Linked DNA regions of Homo sapiens: regions 1, 2 and 4 are each linked to region 3. The links are contacts of gene promoters, found by promoter capture Hi-C in blood cells and fetal thymus (Javierre and others, 2016). All regions are on one chromosome and are shown on one strand. Each heading gives the region's core, a stretch centred on a gene start or on the middle of the fragment in contact. The rest is flanking DNA. Distances are from core to core; before and after follow the strand shown.

The links. The method cuts DNA at HindIII sites, captures the fragments that hold promoters and counts their contacts. A CHiCAGO score of 5 or more calls a contact.
Region 1: the fragment with the promoter of PRTN3 here is called in contact with the fragment with the promoter of MIDN in region 3 in 2 of 17 cell types (naive CD8 T cells and monocytes); the score reaches 5.1 in naive CD8 T cells.
Region 2: a fragment that was not itself captured here is called in contact with the fragment with the promoter of MIDN in region 3 in 2 of 17 cell types (monocytes and activated CD4 T cells); the score reaches 10.0 in monocytes.
Region 4: a contact is called between a fragment that was not itself captured here and the fragment with the promoter of MIDN in region 3, in 2 of 17 cell types (monocytes and activated CD4 T cells). The highest score is 5.9, in monocytes.

Annotation. Positions count from the first base shown.
Region 1 is chr19:838,036-843,864 of GRCh38, forward strand. It overlaps PRTN3 (proteinase 3), which reads left to right and starts at 2,964. Exons shown (of 5, transcript NM_002777.4): 1 at 2,964-3,034; 2 at 5,426-5,591. The coding sequence starts at 2,974. The HindIII fragment of the contact is 23,301 bases long and covers 1,436-5,829 here.
Region 2 is chr19:899,947-904,183 of GRCh38, forward strand. It overlaps R3HDM4 (R3H domain containing 4), which reads right to left. Exons shown (of 8, transcript NM_138774.4): 2 at 2,030-2,184; 3 at 1,476-1,600; 4 at 883-1,006; 5 at 115-200. Among named protein-coding and RNA genes, the nearest start is that of RNU6-9, 8.6 kb to the left of the region's middle. RefSeq lists an enhancer at 4,113-4,237. The HindIII fragment of the contact is 8,648 bases long and covers 1-4,237 here.
Region 3 is chr19:1,243,851-1,250,026 of GRCh38, forward strand. It overlaps MIDN (midnolin), which reads left to right and starts at 4,733. Exons shown (of 9, transcript NM_001388306.1): 1 at 4,733-4,810; 2 at 6,040-6,176. It overlaps LOC102723811 (a long non-coding RNA gene), which reads right to left and starts at 4,222. Exons shown (of 2, transcript XR_007067082.1): 1 at 4,163-4,222; 2 at 2,418-4,011. ATP5F1D (ATP synthase F1 subunit delta) reads left to right here. Exons shown (of 4, transcript NM_001687.5): 3 at 247-335; 4 at 465-975. The coding sequence ends at 587. RefSeq lists silencers at 478-637, 4,187-4,726, 4,817-5,276, 5,337-5,456, 5,487-5,956 and 1 more and enhancers at 838-997, 2,129-2,874, 4,810-5,343. The HindIII fragment of the contact is 31,339 bases long and covers 1-6,176 here.
Region 4 is chr19:757,641-761,563 of GRCh38, forward strand. It overlaps MISP (mitotic spindle positioning), which reads left to right. Exons shown (of 5, transcript NM_173481.4): 2 at 1-1,086; 3 at 2,269-2,399. Among named protein-coding and RNA genes, the nearest start is that of MISP, 8.5 kb to the left of the region's middle. The HindIII fragment of the contact is 9,837 bases long and covers 1-3,923 here.

The DNA of each region.
Region 1 (5,829 bases), core at 1,714-4,213, 410 kb before region 3:
CCGGCTAATTTTTTGTATTTTTAGTAGAAACGGGGTTTCACCGTGTTAGCCAGGATGGTCTCGATCTCCTGACCTCGTGATCCGCCCGCCTCGGCCTCCCAAAGTGCTGGGATTACAGGCGTGAGCCACCGCGCCCGGCCCACAGCTCTAGTTCTTTAATACACATCAGGTCGGTCATGGTGGCTCATGCCTGTGATCCCAGCATTTGGGGAGGTCAAGGCAGGAGCGTCCCTGAAGGCTGGCAGTTCAAGACCAGCCAGGGCAACATAGCAAGACCCCATTTCTACAAAAAATTAAACAGCCAACCAAAAAAAAAAAAAAAAAGAAAGAAAAACTTTAGCTGGACATGGTGGAGCATGCCTGTGGTCCCAGCTACTTGGGGGGTTGAGGCAGGAGAATTGCTTGAGCCCAGGAGGTCGAGGCTGCAGTGAGCCATGATTACACCACTGCACTCCAGCCTGGGTGACACAGCCAGACCCTGTCTCAAAAAATATATATGTATATTTTAAAATATTATATATTATATAATGTAAATAATATACATGCTACATATTTTATGTATACATCTATGTTATATACATTAATATAGCCAGGTGCAGTGGCTCACACCTGTGTTCCCAGCACTTTGGCGGGATTACGGGCGGGTCACCTGAGGTCAGGAGTTCGAGACCAGCCTGGCCAATATAGTGAAACCCCGTCTTTACTAAAAATACAAAAAAAAAAAAAAATTAGCCAGGCGTGGTGGTGGGCGTCTATAATCCCAGCTATACAGGAGGCTGAGGCAGGAGAATTGTTTGAACCCGGGAGGCGGAGATTGCAGTGAGCTGAGATCGCACCACTGCTCTCCAGCCTGGTGACAGAGCGAGACTCTGTCTCAAAAAAAAAAAAAAATCCAAAGGGGAAAACAGTAACTGGACAGTGCAGGAACCGGCAGATGCCCTGACCACGTGGTCAAGGTTATTACCATCAGCACGAGACAGGCCGAAGCCATGGGCTTCGACGTGGGGGGCCTGAGACAGACACACGCCACGCCCGGGACTCCCTCCATTGAGTCCTGAGGCCACCCAGGACCATCCCCACGGAGGGACGCTCTGCAGAGTGACCACCAGCTCTCCTCAATGGTCCCAAGGGCTGAGGGAGGGCAGAGGGACTGCGCCCGCTGGAGGAGACCCTGACATCTGAAGATGGGTGGCTTGTGTACCCAGGACCCAGCAAAGGGTGGCTGGTGATACTCAGGGGGCTGGGGCAGAGGGGGCCATTTGGAATCAACTTTCGCGCCCTGGCTTCGATCACAGCCTGGAGGGTTGAGCAAGAGGACAGAATTTAGGGAAGCTGGGGGAGGGAGGCCGGGGGAGGGAGTTTGGGGAGCGGGGAGGGAGTTTGGACCCTTTGGACTTCTGTAAGCGTGAAATCCTTTCCAAATGAAACGTTAAAAAGCTTTTTTTCTTTTTGGCCTCCAAGTTCATTCAGTGCTTCTCTCCATTTCACTGTAGGTTTAAACCGTTCAGTTATAAATAAATAATTTTATCCTCTGTCCTCGGCTTTCCCCCGTTTCCGGCACTGCAGACATGGGGGCTGGATTTGTCTCTGCGGCGGGGCCATCCTGGGCACTGCAGGGCCCTGCCAGGAGCTCCCTCCAAGTCGTGACAACCACGGATGTCTCCAGGCCTCACACAGGGACCCCTGGGGGCAGAATCACCCCAGGGTTAGAGGATTCCACAGACCCCAAGAGACTCTGAGTCCCATGATCCTCTGCCCTGCTGAGGTCCCAGGAGGCTGCACACATTGAAATCCACACCCTGAGTGGGAGGGAGAGAGGAGGCGAGTCCCGGGAGCTGGGGTCCCCCGGGTTTATGCCGTACGCCCCATCGGGAGTTTATTCTGGTGTCCGGTGTGAGCAGGGGGCAGACTGGATTTTTTATTTTTTATTTTTATTTATTTATGTTTTGAGATGGAGTCTTGCTCTGTTGCCCAGGCTGGAGTGCAGTGGCACGATCTTGGCTCCCTGCAACCTTCGCCTCCCAGGCTCAAGTGATTCTCCTGCCTCAGCCTCCTGAGTAGCTGGGACTACAGGCGCCCGCCAACACGCGCAGCTAATTTTTGTATTTTTAGTAGAGATGGGGTTTCACTATGTTGGCCAGGCTGGTCTTGAACTCCTGACCTCAGGCGATCCACCCGCCTCGGCCTCCCAAAGTGCTGGGATTACAGGTGTGAGGCACCGCACCTGGCCATTTTTTTCCCCAAATAATGAACACTGGTCTCTCCCCTGGGCCCTGTGGACATCGGGGCTGGATCCTTCTCTGGGGCAGGCCCGTCCTGGGCACTGCAGGGTGCTAGGCATCATCCTTGGCCTCCACCCACTCCATGCCAGGAGCTCCCCTTTCGTGACAGCCACAGGTGTCCTCAGACCTCGCCCAGGGTCCCCTGGGGGCAGAATCACCTCTTGATTGAGAATCCTGGCCTTAAAGGGGGAAGAAAACCCCCAGACAAAACTGGCAGGAGGATGTTCGCTGGGGCCTCAGGTGAGGCACTGAGGGCACTCGTGGTGGGGCCCTGCCTTCCCGAGCTCTGCATCCTGTCCCCTGCTACGTCCTGCTGTCTGTCCGTTTCCAGCTCACCCACCCACGGGACACACCTGCCACGGCCGGCTTTGCTGGGGCCACAGGGACCTCGTCAGGGAGGCGTCTCCTTGTGGGTGGCACGTGGGCATGTGTTGCTCTGAGGGCTGTGGCCATGTTGCCCACCTGGCCAGGGACCCCCGACTTGGGTGGGTGACAGCCAGCCTCCCCGCCCCCACAAAGGTTGGGACCTTGAGCCCAAAGCCCCCACCTCCTCCCCGGAGTCCGTTCTGACTCCCAGGCTCCCAAGGCAAAAGGAGGAAGTGGGGACCCAGCCTGGGCATTGGGCAACTCAACGGCCTCTGGCATTGGGCTATAAGAGGAGCTTGACCGTGGGTGCACCCTGGACCCCACCATGGCTCACCGGCCCCCCAGCCCTGCCCTGGCGTCCGTGCTGCTGGCCTTGCTGCTGAGCGGTGAGTGAGCCACGTGCCCATCCATCCAGCCTCCAGGCCCCGGTGGATTGTGGGGAAATATCCACCACGAGGTCCATCCAAAGCCCTTCTGGCACAGCTGGGGAAACTGAGGCAGGGTCAGGGGAGACTCCACTCACTGCTCGGGACCAACGCTTGCAGGGGTGGGGAGGACAAGGGCAAGGGGGAGCCCTGGCCATTTGACTCAGTTGCCTATCTGTAAAACGGGCAAAACCCAGCCCTTCCCTCCTGAGGAGCTGTTTTGGGAATTAGCTAGTAACAGGCGAATTCCTGGACAGCACCCAGCCTTCAGCAAATGCTCAGTGAATATGCATGAATGAATGAATGAGTGAATGAATGAGTGAGTGAGTGAATGAGTGAACAAATGAATGAGTGAATGAATCAATGAGTGAGTGAATGAATGAGTGAATGAGTGAATGAGTGAACGAATGAATGAGTGAATGAATCAATGAGTGAGTGAATGAATGAGTGAATGAGTGAATGAATGAGTGAATGAGTGAATGAGTGAACGAATGAATGAGTGAATGAATGAATGAGTGAGTGAGTGAAAGGGTCGAGGAGTTAGTGATGCTGGAATCAGGGGAAGAAGAGAGCATGGGCCCCCTCAGGTCCCTATCCTGAGGGTGATTTTCTTTTTCTTTTTCTTTTTTTTTTTTTTGAGACGGAGTCTCGCCCTGTCGCCCAGGCTGGAGTGCAGTGGCGCGATCTCGGCTCACTGCAAGCTCAGCCTCCCGGGTTCACGCCTTTCTCCTGCCTCAGCCTCCCGAGTAGCTGGGACTACAGGCGCCCACCACCATGCCTGGATAATTTTTTGTAATTTTTGTAGAGACGGGGTTTCAAGGTGTTAGCCAGGATGGTCTCGATCTCCTGACTTCGTGATCCGCCTGCCTCAGCCTCCCAAAGTGCTGGGATTACAGGCGTGAGCCACCGCGCCTGGCCCTTTTTTTTTCTTTTTTGAAACGGAATCTTGCTCTGTCGCCCAGGCTGGAGTGCAGTGGTGCAATCTCAGTTTACTGCAGCCTCAGCCTCCTGGGGTCAAATGATTCTCCTGCCTCCGCCTCTTGAGTAGCTGGGATTACAAGCACACACCACCACACCTGGCTAGTTTTTGTATTTTTAGTAGAGATGGGGTTTCACCACGTTGGTCAGGCTGGTCTCGAACTCCTGACCTGAGGGGGATTTTCAATGCCTCAGTTTGTTCATCTGCAAAATGGGTCTCTTTGTTGGCTGATTTTTTTTTTTTTTTTTGCTTCTTTTTTTTTATTTTGTTTTGTTTTGTTTTTTTGAGATGGGGTCTCACTCAGGCATGAGCCACTGCGCCCAGGATTTTTTTTTTTTTTTTTTTTTTTTGAGACAGAATCTCACTCTGTTGCCCAGGCTGGAGTGCAGTGGTGTGATCTCGGCTCACTGCAACCTGTGCCTCCTGGGTTCAAGCGATTCTCCTGCCTCAGCCTCCCAGGCAGCTGAGATTACAGGTGCGAACCACCACACCTGGCTAATTTTTTTTTTTTTTTTTTTTGAGACGGAGTGTCATTCTGTTGCCAGGCTGGAGTGCAGTGGGGCGATCTTGGCTCACCACAACCTCCGCTTCCTGGGTTCAAGCGATTCTCCTGCGTCAACCTCCGGAGTAGCTGGGACTACAGGCACGTGCCACCACGCCCAGCTAATGTTTGTATTTTTAGTAGAGACAGGGTTTCACCATGTTGGCCAGGATGGTCTCCATCTCTTGACCTCAGGTGATCCACCCACCTCGGCCTCCCAAAGTATTGGGATTACAGGCGTGGGCCAACCGCACCCGACCAATTTTTCTGCTTCTTTAAAAACATTTTTTTAAATTTTGTTTTAGAGACAGGGTCTTGCTCTGTTGCCCAGGCTGGAGTGCAGTGGTGTGATCTCAGTTCACTGCAGCCTTGACCTCCTGGGCTCAAGCGATCCTCCCTCCTCAGCCTCCCAAGTAGCTGGGACGACAGGTGCACACCACCATGCCTGGCTAATTTTAAAATTTTTTGTAGAGATGGGGTCCTCACAATTTTGCCCAGGCTGGTCTTGAACTCCTGAGCTCAAGGGAGCCTCCTGCCTCGGCCTCCCAAAGTGTTGGGATTACAGGCGTGAGCCACTGCACCCAGCCACCTGGTCTGCGTCTTAAAAGCCTTCCTGACTCTCAGGACTGAAAGCTGCCACCAGGGCGCCTTTGGAAATCGTCGTAATTATAACCCCCCCGGCCTGGGCGCTGAGTCCTTCCCACCAGCCAGCAGGCACTGACCGGGTTGCAGATCGGGAGACGGAGGCTCGGAGAGGCCCAGGGGCTGCTCTGCCATCCCCCCTTTCCCTGCAGCCTGGGGGCTCCCTGACGCCTGGACTCCCCCCCTGCAGGTGCTGCCCGAGCTGCGGAGATCGTGGGCGGGCACGAGGCGCAGCCACACTCCCGGCCCTACATGGCCTCCCTGCAGATGCGGGGGAACCCGGGCAGCCACTTCTGCGGAGGCACCTTGATCCACCCCAGCTTCGTGCTGACGGCCGCGCACTGCCTGCGGGACATGTGAGCGGCCGCCTCCACACCCCTGTCCGCCCGCCCCGCCCTCTTCCTCCAGCCCTGGCCCGGCCACTGTCCCTCTGCCCGGGGAGGACCCAGCTAAGCCCCGTCTGCAGACCCCAGGCCCCGCGCGCGTGGGCAGTTCTGGGGGGAGGCCCGGGGCAGGGTCGCCGAGGGAGGGGTCTGGGGCTGCACCGCGGCCTCGGGAAGGGCCGGCTGTGGGCGGCGGCGAGTGTCCAGGGCG
Region 2 (4,237 bases), core at 353-2,852, 350 kb before region 3:
CTGCCCTGTTTCCCCTGACACGACCTGCACCGGGTGAGAACCTGTGCCTGGGAAACGGGCCTTCAAAAAAGACCAGGCAGGTAGAAAAGGGAGGCCCGGCAATCCCCCACTCACCATGGGGATGCGGCTGCGCTTGAGGACGGCTCGCAGACGCCGGCTGATGCGCTGGAAGCACTCGCGGGGTGTATAGGCGGGGTCCTCTGCAGGAGTGGGGGAACAAGGGGCAGTCTTGGGGTGCTCGTCCTGGCCCTGCCCACCTGCCAGACCACGCCCACCCAGGGAAGACCACGCCCATCTGTGCCTTGGCCTCTCCTGCCCACCAAACCACACCTTCAACGATACTGTGGCCCCATCCAGCCAGCAGACCCTACCCCCACGAGGCCCTGACCCCAACCCATCCAGCTGACCCTACCCTCACCTGTATGTTCACCCCAGCTAGACATGAGGCCCCACCCACTCCAGGCCCACACAAGCCAGCTAGCCCCACCCCTACCCACTGCCATCCAGATCCTGCCCCCACATGCTGGCCACATCCACTCCATGTCCCGCCCCATCCATATCCTACCTACCCCATCCTGGCCCCACACACCCCATTGCCCTGTCCCCATCCATACCCTGGCCTCACCCACACACTAGGTCCAACCCACTCCAGGTCCCGCCCACACCCCATCCATATCCTGCCCCCCATCGCGGCCCCACCCACCCCAGGCCTCGCCCCCATCCCCCATCCATACCTGGGCCCAACATACTAGGTCCAACCCACTCCAGGTCCCGCCCACACCCCATCCATATCCTGCCCCCCCATCCCGGCCCCACCCACCCCAGGCCACGCCCCCATCCATACCCTGGCCCCACCCATACCCGCCCCAGCCAGGCCCGCACCTCTCCTCCGGTCCTCCCCACGGCCAGGGCCCCTCCTCCGCGCCTTGCTCCTGCCCTCATCCTCCAGGTAGCGAAGAACCCGCTCCTGCTCCTCCCCGGAGCGGTTCATGAAATCGTTCCAGACCTGGAAGAGAGGCAGGGAGGCAGGCTTGCCATGAAACACTGGGGCTGCGCTGACATCCCCGGGCAAATGGGCACGGTAAGGCCGCCAAGCACGTGGACGCGCTCCTGCGGTCACCTCTGTCCACTGAGGGGCCGCTGCTTGTGTCGGGCCCTGAGCTGAGCGCAGGGAAGCGGGGAACCGGGGTGGGCCCAGCTGTCTCGGGGTGGGGGGGATTGAGGTGAAACACTCCTGCAATCGTTGGAGGGTTCCCAAACGTGTTGGGCAGGTGAATCCAGGAGCTCGAAGGTTCCAGGGGTGGGGTGGGGATTCTGGCCTGGTCTGGGGACCCCGAAGGAGACTGAGGGGCCTTCATTAGGAGATCAGAAGTGGGCGGGTGCTTCTGGCGGGGGACGGGCACAGGCGATGGCCTGGCCGTAGGAGAACTGCCGGGGTCCCCGTGTGGAGGGAGTGAGGGGGTTGGGGGCCACACCTCCACATAGGTGGCGTTGTTGCAGGCCTCGGCAAAGATGCCTGGTGATGCAGGGGGTGCCAAGTCCCCATCCTCCAGGCCAGGCAGGCCCCCGTCTGTCTCCAGCAGGGTCAGGAGGTACTGGGCTAGGTGGAAACAGATGCTCTCTGGGCCGGGGTGGCATTTGGGGACCCCCAGGCACCATGGGGACCCAAGAACTAGCCTTCCTCCTTTTTTATCATCTCAACCTCCGCACCTCCATGCTCCAACTGTCTTCCCCAGAAGGTACAGAGACCACCTAGACCCCAGGTTCTGGATTGTCGAACTCCTATATATCCTTTAAAGCCCCAGCTCCAATGCCCGGGGCGCCCTCCCACCCAGCCCTGATCCAAGAGTCCAGGGGGCGCCTGTGTCTGGCTCTATTTATATGGTCCCCCGGCCTACAGCTGACACCTCTTTGGGTCCCCAGCCCCACCCAGGCACAGCTCATGGGAGGGGTAACAGATAACACCAATATGCATGCCATTCTACAAGGCCCAGGAGCCCCCAGGAGGCGCCTCCCGACCCCTGCTCACTGTTCTCCAGGCGCTGGAGGCTCTTCCGCCCCTTGGCCTTGGGCACGAGGTCTGAGTTCCGCACTGCCTGGTTGATGAAGTGCTGTTTCCGCCTGGAAGCCGAGAGTCTCTTCACCTGGGAGCTGGCTAGGGCAGGCAGGCAGCTGGGAAGGGGCCTGTGGGCCGGGGCAGGGGTGGTCCTCAGGGTCAAGGCCGGCCAGGATCTCCGAGAAGGGCCCTACCACAGCCATGGCCCGCTTGGTTTCCCCCAGCAATGGAGAGCTCACCCCTACGGTGTGTGAAGTCCTGGGCCCTTAAAATCCTATTTTGTTTCATCCTCACATCACAGGAAGCAGATACAATTGTGAAGACGGGCTGGGTGTGGTGGCTCATGCCGGTGATCCCAGCATTGTGGGAGGCTGAGGCCGGTGGATCACTTGAGCTCAGGGGTTCAAGACCAGCCTGAGCAACATAGCAAGACTATGAAAAAAAAAAAAGACTTATTTTTTTGTCTCTACAAAAAAAAATAATAATTAAAAAATTAACCGGTGTGCTGGTACATGCCTGTAGTCCCAGCTACTCAGGGGCCTGAGGCAGGAGGATCACTTAAGTCCAGGAGGTCGAGGTTGGCATGATGGCACCACTGCACTCCAGCCTGGGCAACAGAGCAAGACTGTGTCCAAAAAAAATAAAAAAAATTAGGTCAGGCACATTGATTCATGCCTGTAATCCCAGCACGTTGGGAGGCCAAGGTGGGTGGATCACTTGAGGTCAGGGGTTGAAGACCAGCCTGGCCAACAGGGTGAAACCCTGTCTCTACCAAAAAAAATACAAAAATTAATCAGGCGTGGTGGCGTGCGCCTGTAATCTCAGCTTACTCAGGAGGCTGAAGTGAGAGAATCGCTTGAACCCGGGAGGCAGATGCTCCAGTGAGCTGAGATTGTGCCACCGCACTCCAGCCTGGGCGACGGAGTGAGACCTTGTCTCAAAAAAAAACAAAAAACTGTGATGATAGATTAGTAAACCGAGGCTCAGAGAAGTGAAGACACTTGCCCAAAGTCACACAGCAGGTGAATGACCAAGAAAAGCTGCCGCCCACCCCCAACCCCAGTGTTCAAGGTGTTAGCTGTAAGCCAGCAAGGCCCACAGCCTTTGGGACGTGAACAGCTTCCTTCAGAAATGGAGAGTCAAGAAACTTGATTTTATCCACATCCCCCACTCCCAGCAGCAGAGGAGCCAGAAAACAGCCCCAGAAGCTCAAGGTGATGCCTCAGCCCCCCCCGCAAACCCCCCCCTTAATGTCCCCTGTCCCCAGGGCCAGGAGGAGAGTGCGGCTGCAGCGGCCCCCCTCCAGAGCTAATCGGCCTGGCCGGAGCAAATGGCATTAATTGTGGAGATGGATTAGCTGTCACAGCTGGGCCTCCCACCGAGAATCCAAGGGCCGAGCCACTCAGTGTGGGGGGAATAGGCAGCCGCCTGGGAAGCGGGTGGTTGGACAGGGTGGGGGTAAGCGCGCACCGCAGCCACCGGGCACCCGGGAAGCGGGCGGCGTTTGGGGGGAGGTAGGCGCGCACCGCAGCCACCCGGCACCTGGGAAGCGGGCCGGTGAGGGGGGGCCTCATGGATGGGGACTTTTCTGGCAAGGAAAAACCACACAAACTGGGCGTGGGAGCTCATGTAATCCCAGCACTTTGGGAGCCCAAGGTGGGTGGATCCCTTGAGCCTGGGGAGTTTGAGGCTGCGGTGAGCTGTGACTGCAATACCGCGCGCTCCAGCCTGGACAACAAGAGCAAGACCGTGTCTCAAAACAAACAGGACGGGCGCGGTGGCTCACGCCTGTCATCCCAGCACTTTGGGAGGCCGAGGCGGGCGGATCATGAGGTCAGGAGATTGAGACCATCCCGGCTAACACGGTGAAACCCCGTCTCCACTAAAAATACAAAAAAATTAGCCGGGCGTGGTGGTGGGCACCTGTAATCCCAGCTACTCGGGAGGCTGAGGCAGGAGAATGGTGTGAACCGGGGAGGCAGAGCTTGCAGTGAGCCGAGATCGTGCCACTGCGCTCCAGCCTGGACGACAGAGCGAGACTCTGTCTCAAAAGCCAAACAAACAAAAAACCGTAATGCTAGCTCCACTGGGCTCACAAACCCCCACACCACAGGGCTGACCATGGCCTCCAGGGTCTGGGGGTACCAGGATCGGCTCCACCCTTATCTCCTAACTCCACCC
Region 3 (6,176 bases), core at 3,483-5,982:
CAGTGCTTTTGGGGGTTCCTCCAGCTTCTAGTCCTTTCTTGCGGCCCCTGTTTTGTTCTTCTCTAGCAGTTGCCCGCCATGTTGGGCCCAGGGCCAGTCCTGTGGGTCTGTTTGCACACTCAGGACACAGACTTGGATGTTTGTGGAGCTCCTGGTTCACAGGGGGCTCTGGACTTGACCAGGGGAGTCCCTGAGGCTGTGCAGCCCTTTGGGGTCTCACGCCTTCCCCCCGCCCCATTCCCCCAGTGAGCAGCGGTTCCATCGCAGTGAACGCCGACTCTTCGGTGCAGTTGTTGGCCGAAGAGGCCGTGACGCTGGACATGTTGGACCTGGGGGTGAGTGTCAGAGGGGACCTGAGGCTCAGCAGGTTGGAGCTGTCCAGGCTGCGGGGGAGGGAGCGCTGGGGGACCAGGAGCCGGGCTGGGGTCGCTGCTGGCCCCTCACCGCCCCTCAACCCCTTGCAGGCAGCCAAGGCAAACTTGGAGAAGGCCCAGGCGGAGCTGGTGGGGACAGCTGACGAGGCCACGCGGGCAGAGATCCAGATCCGAATCGAGGCCAACGAGGCCCTGGTGAAGGCCCTGGAGTAGGCGGTGCGTACCCGGTGTCCCGAGGCCCGGCCAGGGGCTGGGCAGGGATGCCAGGTGGGCCCAGCCAGCTCCTGGGGTCCCGGCCACCTGGGGAAGCCGCGCCTGCCAAGGAGGCCACCAGAGGGCAGTGCAGGCTTCTGCCTGGGCCCCAGGCCCTGCCTGTGTTGAAAGCTCTGGGGACTGGGCCAGGGAAGCTCCTCCTCAGCTTTGAGCTGTGGCTGCCACCCATGGGGCTCTCCTTCCGCCTCTCAAGATCCCCCCAGCCTGACGGGCCGCTTACCATCCCCTCTGCCCTGCAGAGCCAGCCGCCAAGGTTGACCTCAGCTTCGGAGCCACCTCTGGATGAACTGCCCCCAGCCCCCGCCCCATTAAAGACCCGGAAGCCTGACTGTGTGCTCGGCTCTTGTTCCTCCACCTGGCCCGGTGAAGCCGGGAGCGTCCTGGGCCCCTGCTCACGTCCTCCATGTCCCTTGCAAATAGGGCCTTTGAGCTCCCCTGGACTATGTCCCTTAGGGCACCTGGAGGTCCGTAGGAAGCAGGCTCGAGGGGGTGGGTGGGGTGCAGCCAGGCGGGCAGGCTGCTGACCTTCACCCTACAACGGTGGGGAGGGTGAAGGTCACCAGTGATGGGGACATCGGTCAGGGAGGGGTGTCCCTGCTGCTCCTGGCGCCTCTGCCGAGTTCCTGGTCTCCAGGCCTTGACCCTGAGCCCTGCTGGCCCTTGGCCCTGCCCACCAGCCTCTGGAAAGAGGCGGGCCCCACCCGCTCCCACGCTGGCCCCGCCCTGTGCCAGCCGGTCCTGTGGGTGGCCCTGCCTGGCCGGGTGCCGAATCTGCAGTGTTTTTGGCACCTCCGTGGGCACCTAGGCTTCTGGGTTGGCCCCAGATGGAGTGGGGTGGGCCCAGGAGGGGGCGGCTCCCTGGCACTGCCCCGTTGGGCCTGCCTCTTCTCCTTTCCATAACCCTGGGGGCGGGCAACACTGGCTCCAGCTGGTGTGTGGACGGCGGGGGCTGGGGTCTCCTGACCTCCTCCCTTCCTTGGGACAGGGCCCTGTGCAGTGGGGTAGGCAGGGAATTCCAGGGGGGTGAGTGGGGAGGGTGGGCCTGCCTGTGTCACTGGAGCTGGGATGGTGACAGAGAGGCCGCCCCGGGCCTGTCAGCACGGACGGGCAGCTCACTCCCACGTCATGGCACTATGCGGGTGACTTGCCACAGCTTCACTTGAGGCGAGGTGCCGTTGGGGGCCTTGCGACTCTGAGGCCGCCGGTCAGCAGATCAGGTATTCTGGAACAGCCCACGGTCCCCTGCCTGGCTCCCCCTCCACTTGGGCCTCGGGACACGAGTGACCAGGCCCCCACTTCTCCAGGAATCCGCAGCCCAGGGAAGGTTGTGTCAGCCACCAGGCCACAGGAGCAGCCTCTGCCCAGGCCCCCCCTCCCCCCCGCCCCCAGTTCCAGCCCCAGGTCTTCAAGTTCCTGCCAGGCCACCAGGACCCTATAAATAAGACCAAGGGCACAGCTGGGACTTAGCAGGGGCCCAGCGGGAGGAGCTGCTCACTCCGGGGACCTCCCCTGCCCCCACCACCAGGGAGGGTGTGAACCTTGGAGCCAGGCCTCAGGACACCCGAGACACCTGACACTCGGAGGGAACAGCCCGTGCTGGCTGGATGCGTCCTGGAGCAGGAGGCAGTCAGGGTGGGGCCGGGAACCAGGCGGTCAAGGCCCTTCAGTGAGGGCAGCCCCTGGCTTAGTGAGGCAGAACAGAGCACAGGGTTTGTCCCCATCACACCCAGGAACAACCCACTCAACCATGGGGACGCCGAGTATGGGAAATGGTGGGGAAGCGTTTTAGCATGTTTATTCATTTAGACTGGCTCTGGGCATCTGGTCCCCAAAGGGCCACACAGTGGCCCCTGTGAAGCCCAGCAAGTTCCGACAACCCGTGTCCCATTCCACTCCCGACCAGACTGAGGTGATGGTGTCCATTCCACTCCCGACCAGACTGAGGTGACGGTGTCCATTCCACTCCCGACCAGACTGAGGTGACGGTGTCCATTCCACTCCCGACCAGACTGAGGTGACGGTGTGCAGGTGGCAGAGCCACACACGAGAGGCAAGAGGCAGGGAGGGAGGTGGGGGCTGCTGGCCACTCACAGGGGGCCCCAGTGTCCTGCTTGGGCTGCTCATTTGGCACCAGTCCACGGCTCCCTCCGCCACCTTTGTTCTCACTGGAAGCAGAATGAGCCTGGCCCTGTAGTTCCCACCTGGGGCCCCAGCCCTTCATCCAAGCCCCATTCATCGACCCTGCCCCTCCTCCCTCCAACTGGGTCCAGTTCACTAAGCTCCCAGAACTGCTCAAGCCATTCCCACTTCCTGGACCATCGTCTTTTTTTTTTTTTTTTTTTTTTTTTTTTGAGAGGAGTTTCGCTCTTATTGCCCAGGCTGGAGTGCAATGGCACAATCTCAGCTCACCACAATCTCCGTCTCCCGGGTTCGAGCAATGCTCCCGCCTCAGCCTCCCAAGTAGCTGAGATTACAGGCGCACATCACCACGCCTGGCTAATTTTTGTGTTTTTAGTACAGACAGGGTTTCACCATGTTGATCAGGCTGGTCTCGAACTCCTGACCTCGTGATCCGCCCGCCTCGGCCTCCCAAAGTGCCAGGATTACAGGCATGAGCCACCGCGCCCGGCCTTTTTTTTTTTTTTTTTTTTTTTTGAGACGGAATCTCGTTTTGTCGCTCAGGCTGGAGTGCCCTGGCACGATCTGGGTTTATTGTAACCTCCGCCTCCCGCGTTCAAGCGATTCTCCTGCCTCAGCCTCCTGAGTAGCTGGGACTACAGACACATGCCACCATGCCCAGCTAATTTTTGTATTTTTAGTAGAGACAGGGTTTCACCATGTTGGCCAGGCTGGTCTCAATCTCTTGACCTTGTGATCCGCCCGCCTCGGCCTCCCAAAGTGCTGGGATTACAGGCGTGAGCCACCGCGCCCGACCGCATCATCTTTTTTATGTGACAAACTCCTAGTCATTCCTCAAACCGCAGCCCCTGTGACCCCCTTCCAAGGGTTATCCCAGCCTCTCCCTCTCTGGCCTAGCCCTGACCCTTCGGGGCTGGGTGTGCCTGTCAAGGTGGGGGCCACGGCTGCCGGGAGCATGGGTGGCAGCCGGAAGGAGACCTGGGGAGGAGCGCAGCCCTGGGAGGGGCGCCCATGGCCAGGGTGGGGGTGGAGGTGGTCAGGCCAGATAAAGGGAGGGGCCAGATGAGTGGACAGGAGGTGCTCCCGTAGGAATGGGGTCCCCTTCTCTAAATAGAGGGGCAGGACGGGGCCCACCTCAACCAGGACCATCCTCAAAAAGCCGACGGGGAAGGGTGAGATGCACACCACATTCGTGTCTCATTGGCTGTGGCCTCAGTTTCTTCATCTGTAAAATGGGGTAATGCCCACCCCAAAGGCTGGGAACCAGTGCATGTCCTGCATTAATGGGGGGTGATGGCCCCAAAGTGATCCTGCCGCATCCCCTCACCACACTCCCACCCACCCTGGAGAAACTGAGGCTTGGAGAGGCCAGTTACCTCCCGGGGTCACAGCATAGCCGGCTGGTGACTGGCTGGGCACAAGGCAGGCCTGGCACTGGCTAATCGCTCCATAAATGCCCTCTGAGGTCACCATTGACAGATGCAGGAGGCCAGGGCTGGCCAGGGCACCCCCACTCTACGGCAGGTGACTCCAGCCTGTTTTCCTGGACGACAGCCGCTGACTCAGGCCCCTCTTCCCGTCCCCCCCACGCGGGCGCCCCCAGGCGGAAGCACCGGGCCTGGGGCGACAGGAAGGGGGCGGGGCAGCGAGTCGCGCTGTACACCCCAAAACCCTGTCCCGCTGACGATTCGGGGTGCATCTCAGCCCGCGGCGAGGCGGGCCGAGACCCTTGGCTCGGGGCATTCAAGGGGAGTCCCCCCATGAACTGCGCCAAGCCTGGGTCCCGGGTGGCCCAGCCGTCAAGGCGCCCCAGGGCCAGGGCCGGCAGGCAGGGGCGGGGGCCAGTCTGCGTCACCGCCCGCCCGGCCCCCCGCCCCCCTGCCCGCCCTAACTCCACCCCGAGGGAAGGCGGCGCGGATAAAGGCTGAGGGCCGCGCGCTTGGCCCAGACCGGCCCGGCCAGCGCGCATTCGGCCCCGGACGAAGGTACTCGCAGCACTTGGAGCGCAGAACCGGCCGCGCCCGGTGAGTGTGGAGGGGGGGGACCTGCGGGCCGAGGAAGGGTGCCCACTCTAGATGGCTCAGGATGCCCGCACTTTTCTTTGTTCTTGGGACAGGAGGGATCGGGGAGCCTCCGGTCCTGGGAAGCCCCCCGGGGTGCGGGGTGGGAGGGGCTCCGCGCAGCCAGCGCCGCCCTGGCCGGACCTCAGCCCCCGCCCCGCCCCCCGGGGCACTCCCCCTTCACCGCGGGTGACCTTGAACTGGTTGCCGTTCCGCCCTCCGTTGCCCAGCCACACGGTCCCAGTCTCCCGACTACAGTCTTTCGTTCCCGATCGGGGTTCCTCCCCCGCGCGCAGCCCAGTCGTCTTCCTCCCCTGCCAGGGGCAGCGCGGCGCCCCCTCCCCGGGACTCCGGGCGGCGCTCCCAGGCGGGCCCGGCAGAGGGCGCGCCCGAGCTGCTGACTCACCGCATCCCCGAGCGCGCGCGGGCGCAGCCGGGGACGCCGCGTCACGTCACGGCTCGAGCGGGCGCGCCTCGGGGAAACGGGTTCTGCCCGCGGCCGGCGGGTGGGCGCGCGGGGCCCCCGGCGGCAGCCACCCGGCCACGTCACCGAGGTGCGGGCGCCCCGCCCCGGCCACAACTCCGCCCCCACGCACCACGCCCTCCCCGGGGCCGCGGCCCTAGCCTCACCGTCGCCCGCCCGCCCCGGGACCCCGGCCACGAGGCGCGGACTTCGCGCTCCCGCTTCCGCTCGCGGCTTTTCCCGGACGAAGGCGGCGGGGTGGCCCCACGACTTCCTGCCCCTCCCGGCGCCGGGAACAATGGCCCGCGCCCCCTCCCGCTCCCGGCCGCTCCCTTGGGATCGCGAGGGGTACCAGACCCGTCTCCAGACCTGGGTCCCGCGCCCCCCGGGGCGCGCCCGCCCTTTGTTGCGGGCTCCGGGCGCTTATGAATGGCTGCGGGCGCGGGCGGGGCGGGGGCGGGCGCGGAGAGGCGCCAGCCCCGCCCCCGCTGCGCTCCCCTTGGTCGCCTGGGCGCTGGGGGCGGGGCGAGGGGGCGGGCCCGGCTGCCACGTGGGGCGGTGCCGCGGCGGCTCTCATAGGCCCGGGCTCGCGGCCGACTGGGCGCTCGGCGCGCGGCGATTGGCCGGCGCCCGGCCGGCGGAGTAAGTAGTGAATGGGAGGGGGCGGCGGCCCCGCCCCCTGGAACGTTGATACATTATAACTTTTTTTTCTTGTTACTTTCACCCCCAGATCCTCCGAGCGGCGGCGACGGCTGTTGCTAAGGGAGGGGACGCGCGAGGAAGCGCGACCCGGGCGGCAGACGGCACCCAGCGCCACCAGCCGAGCGGCGCCCCCTCCCCAGGACCCTTAACCGCGCCGCGTCCCGG
Region 4 (3,923 bases), core at 1-2,500, 490 kb before region 3:
AGGCCTTCAACAAGCCCCACCTGGCCAACGGGCACGTGGTTCCCATCAAGCCCCAGGTGAAGGGGGTGGTCAGGGAAGAGAACAAGGTGCGTGCTGTGCCCACCTGGGCCAGTGTCCAAGTTGTGGATGACCCTGGCTCCTTGGCCTCAGTGGAGTCCCCGGGGACCCCCAAGGAGACGCCCATCGAGCGGGAGATCCGTCTGGCTCAGGAGCGTGAGGCAGACCTGCGAGAGCAGAGGGGGCTTCGGCAGGCAACCGACCACCAGGAGCTGGTGGAAATCCCCACCAGGCCGCTGCTGACCAAGCTGAGCCTGATCACAGCCCCACGGCGGGAGAGAGGGCGCCCGTCCCTCTACGTGCAGCGGGACATAGTACAGGAGACACAGCGTGAGGAAGACCACCGGCGGGAGGGCCTGCACGTGGGCCGGGCGTCCACACCCGACTGGGTCTCGGAGGGTCCCCAGCCCGGACTCCGGAGAGCCCTCAGCTCAGATTCCATCCTCAGCCCGGCCCCAGATGCCCGTGCGGCCGACCCAGCTCCAGAAGTGAGGAAGGTGAACCGCATCCCACCTGATGCCTACCAGCCGTACCTGAGCCCCGGGACCCCCCAGCTAGAATTCTCAGCCTTCGGAGCATTCGGCAAGCCCAGCAGTCTCTCCACAGCGGAGGCCAAGGCTGCGACTTCACCAAAGGCCACGATGTCCCCGAGGCATCTCTCAGAATCCTCTGGAAAACCCCTGAGCACAAAGCAAGAGGCATCGAAGCCCCCTCGGGGATGCCCGCAAGCCAACAGGGGTGTCGTGCGGTGGGAGTACTTCCGCCTGCGTCCTCTGCGGTTCAGGGCCCCAGACGAGCCCCAGCAGGCCCAAGTCCCCCATGTCTGGGGCTGGGAGGTGGCTGGGGCCCCTGCACTGAGGCTGCAGAAGTCCCAGTCATCTGATCTGCTGGAAAGGGAGAGGGAGAGTGTCCTGCGCCGGGAGCAAGAGGTGGCAGAGGAGCGGAGAAATGCTCTCTTCCCAGAGGTCTTCTCCCCAACGCCAGATGAGAACTCTGACCAGAACTCCAGGAGCTCCTCCCAGGCATCCGGTGAGAAGGGGCTCCAGGGAGTGGCTGCTTGGCTCAGGGTCTCAGAGGTTGGAGCAGGGGAGGGTGGGGAGGTGGAGTTTGAGGCTGTCAAAGGGCTGGGGTTGGGGAGACATTGCCTCCTGACTGTTCATCCCCTCAGTCGCTGGTTTGTCTGCCTGTCTATTAAAAATGTAGATTTTGGAGAGAAATGTCAACTTTACCTTAGGGCTTTTGCTTTATGGATTTGGATGCCTTGTTGTTAGGCGCATAAATGTTCATATATGTTTTGTGTGTTTTGTTTTTGTTTTTGTTTTTTGTTTTTCGGTTTTCTTTTTTGAGACGGAGTCTCGCTCTGTCGCCCAGGCTGGAGTGCAGTGGCAGGATCTCAACTCACTGTAACCTCCACCTCCTGGGTTCAAGCGATTCTCCTGCCTCAGCCTCCTGAGTAGCTGGGATTACAGGTGCCCACCACCACTCCCGGCTAATTTTTGTATTTTTAGTAGAGACAGGTTTCATCATGTTGGCCAGGCTGGTCTTGAACTCCTGACCTCAGGCGATCCACCCTGCCTTGGCCTCCCAAAGTGCTGGGATTACAAGCATGAGCCACTGCTCCCGGCCTGTTCATATATGTTTATCCTCTTGGACAGTTGCACCTTTTTGACAATATGAAATATTCCTTGTGTCACTTTTAATGTTTTTTTTTTTTTTTTTTGAGATGGAGTCTCGCTCTGTCACCCAGGCTGGAGTGCAGTGGCGCGATCTCGGCTCACTGCAAGCTCCGCCTCCCGGGTTCACGCCATTCTCTCGCCTCAGCCTCCTGAGTAGCTGGGACTACAGGCGCCTGCCTCCACGCCTGGCTAATTTTTTTGTATTTTTAGTAGAGATGGGGTTTCACCGTGTTAGCCAGGACGGTCTCGATCTCCTGACCTCGTGATCCACCCACCTCGGCCTCCCAAAGTGCTGGGATTACAGGCGTGAGCCACCGCGCCCGGCCACTTTTAATGTTCTTCACCTTGCATGTCGGCCCATCTGTGCATCCAGTTTCTCCTGACTGGCTACTTTGGTCAATCTGTCAGTTTCCCGGATAGTCATCTGCTCTGTCTGTCCATACATCTGTCTCCTTAGCTGCTGGCTAGAGACTCTGTCTCCCGAGCAGAGGTCTGACAAATGTTCTAATGTTCTGCCCTCCCTGCTCCCCTACAGGCATCACGGGCAGTTACTCGGTGTCTGAGTCTCCCTTCTTCAGCCCCATCCACCTACACTCAAACGTGGCGTGGACAGTGGAAGATCCAGTGGACAGTGCTCCTCCCGGGCAGAGAAAGAAGGAGCAATGGGTGAGTCTGGAACCCGTCTCTGCAGAGGCCAGGCTGAGGTCAGACAGCCCCTATTAGGGCCACAGGAAGTTCAAGCAGGACTCAAGCCTGACCTGGGTTCAAGCACTACCCCCACCCCTGGCCGTGCCTCAGTCTCCTGCAGATGTCAGGTAGAAGATGATAAACTTGGTGTCCTTGTATCTCTGGGCTTCTGCTTGGAGAGGCCATATAAGCTGGGGTCTTTGTCCCCATCAGGAGGTCATCTCCAGGATCAAAGACCAAAGGACCAACTCTGCTTGGAGGAGGAGGACACTGGCAATTTGTCATCGTCACCAGCATTAGTTTCTTTTTTTTTTTTTTTTTTTGAGACGGAGTCTCACTCTGTCGCCCAGGCTGGAGTGCAGTAGCACGATCTCGGCTCACTGCAACCTCCACCTCCCGGGTTGAAGTGATTCTCCTGCCTCAGCCTCCTGAGTAGCTGGGATTACAGGCGTGCACCACCACGCCCGGCTAATTTTTTTGTATTTTTAGTAGAGACGTGGTTTCACCATGTTAGCCAGGCTGGTCTCAAACCGATCTCAAGTGACCTGCCCACTTGGGCCTCCCAAAGTGCTGGGATTATAGGCATGAGCCACTGCACCTGGCCACAGATATTTACTTCTAAGAAAGAGAGAGAGAGAGAGAGAAGGCAGGAGGGAGGGAGGGATGGAGGGAAGGAAGGAACAAAGCGAGGAAGGAAGGGAGGGAGGGAGAGGGAGAGACGGAGGGATGTGTCTGTCACACGCTGGCTCGGGGCTTCCAATGAACCACACCTTTAGCACCCTGGTGGTCTCACATGCCCAGGGTTAGGCAGCTCATGAACCCAGGCTTGACTCCAGGACCTACAGGCCACAGAGCTTTGCCTTAGGGGTTTTACTTTATGAATTTTGATGCCTTGTTGTTAGACATGTAATTGTTCATGTATGTTTATCCTCTTGGATGAGAGCTCCTTTTGTCAGTATGAAATATTCCTCACGTCACTTTTAATGACACGAGGAATATTTAGTGCCATGAGGAATATTATGTCCTTTTTTTTTTTTTTTTTTTTTTGAGATGGAGTCTCGCTCTGTCACCCAGGCTGGAGTGCAGTGGCACGATCTTGGCTCACTGCAACCTCTGCCTCCCGGGTTCAAGCGATTCTCCTGCCTCGGCCTCCCGTGTAGCTGGAATTACAGGTACGTGCCACCACTCCTGGCTAAAGGGAGGCTGCTAGGGAGGCTCCATCCGGGAGGTGGAGGTTGCAGTGAGCCGAGATCGCACCACCGCACTCCAGCCTGGGTGATAGAGCAAGACTCAGACCCAATATAAATAAATAAATTAATTAATTAAATTAAATAAATCATGAATGTTGGACAGAGGCTGCACTGAGGGGAACAGCATGAGGAACAGCAAGGGGGATGGCTGTGAGTCTGGGTGATCGTGGGACACGTGTTGAGAACACTCAGGGCAGGGGATGCCTTCCACTCTTCCCCAAATGGTGACAGAGAGGGCTGTGTGGGAGCTCTG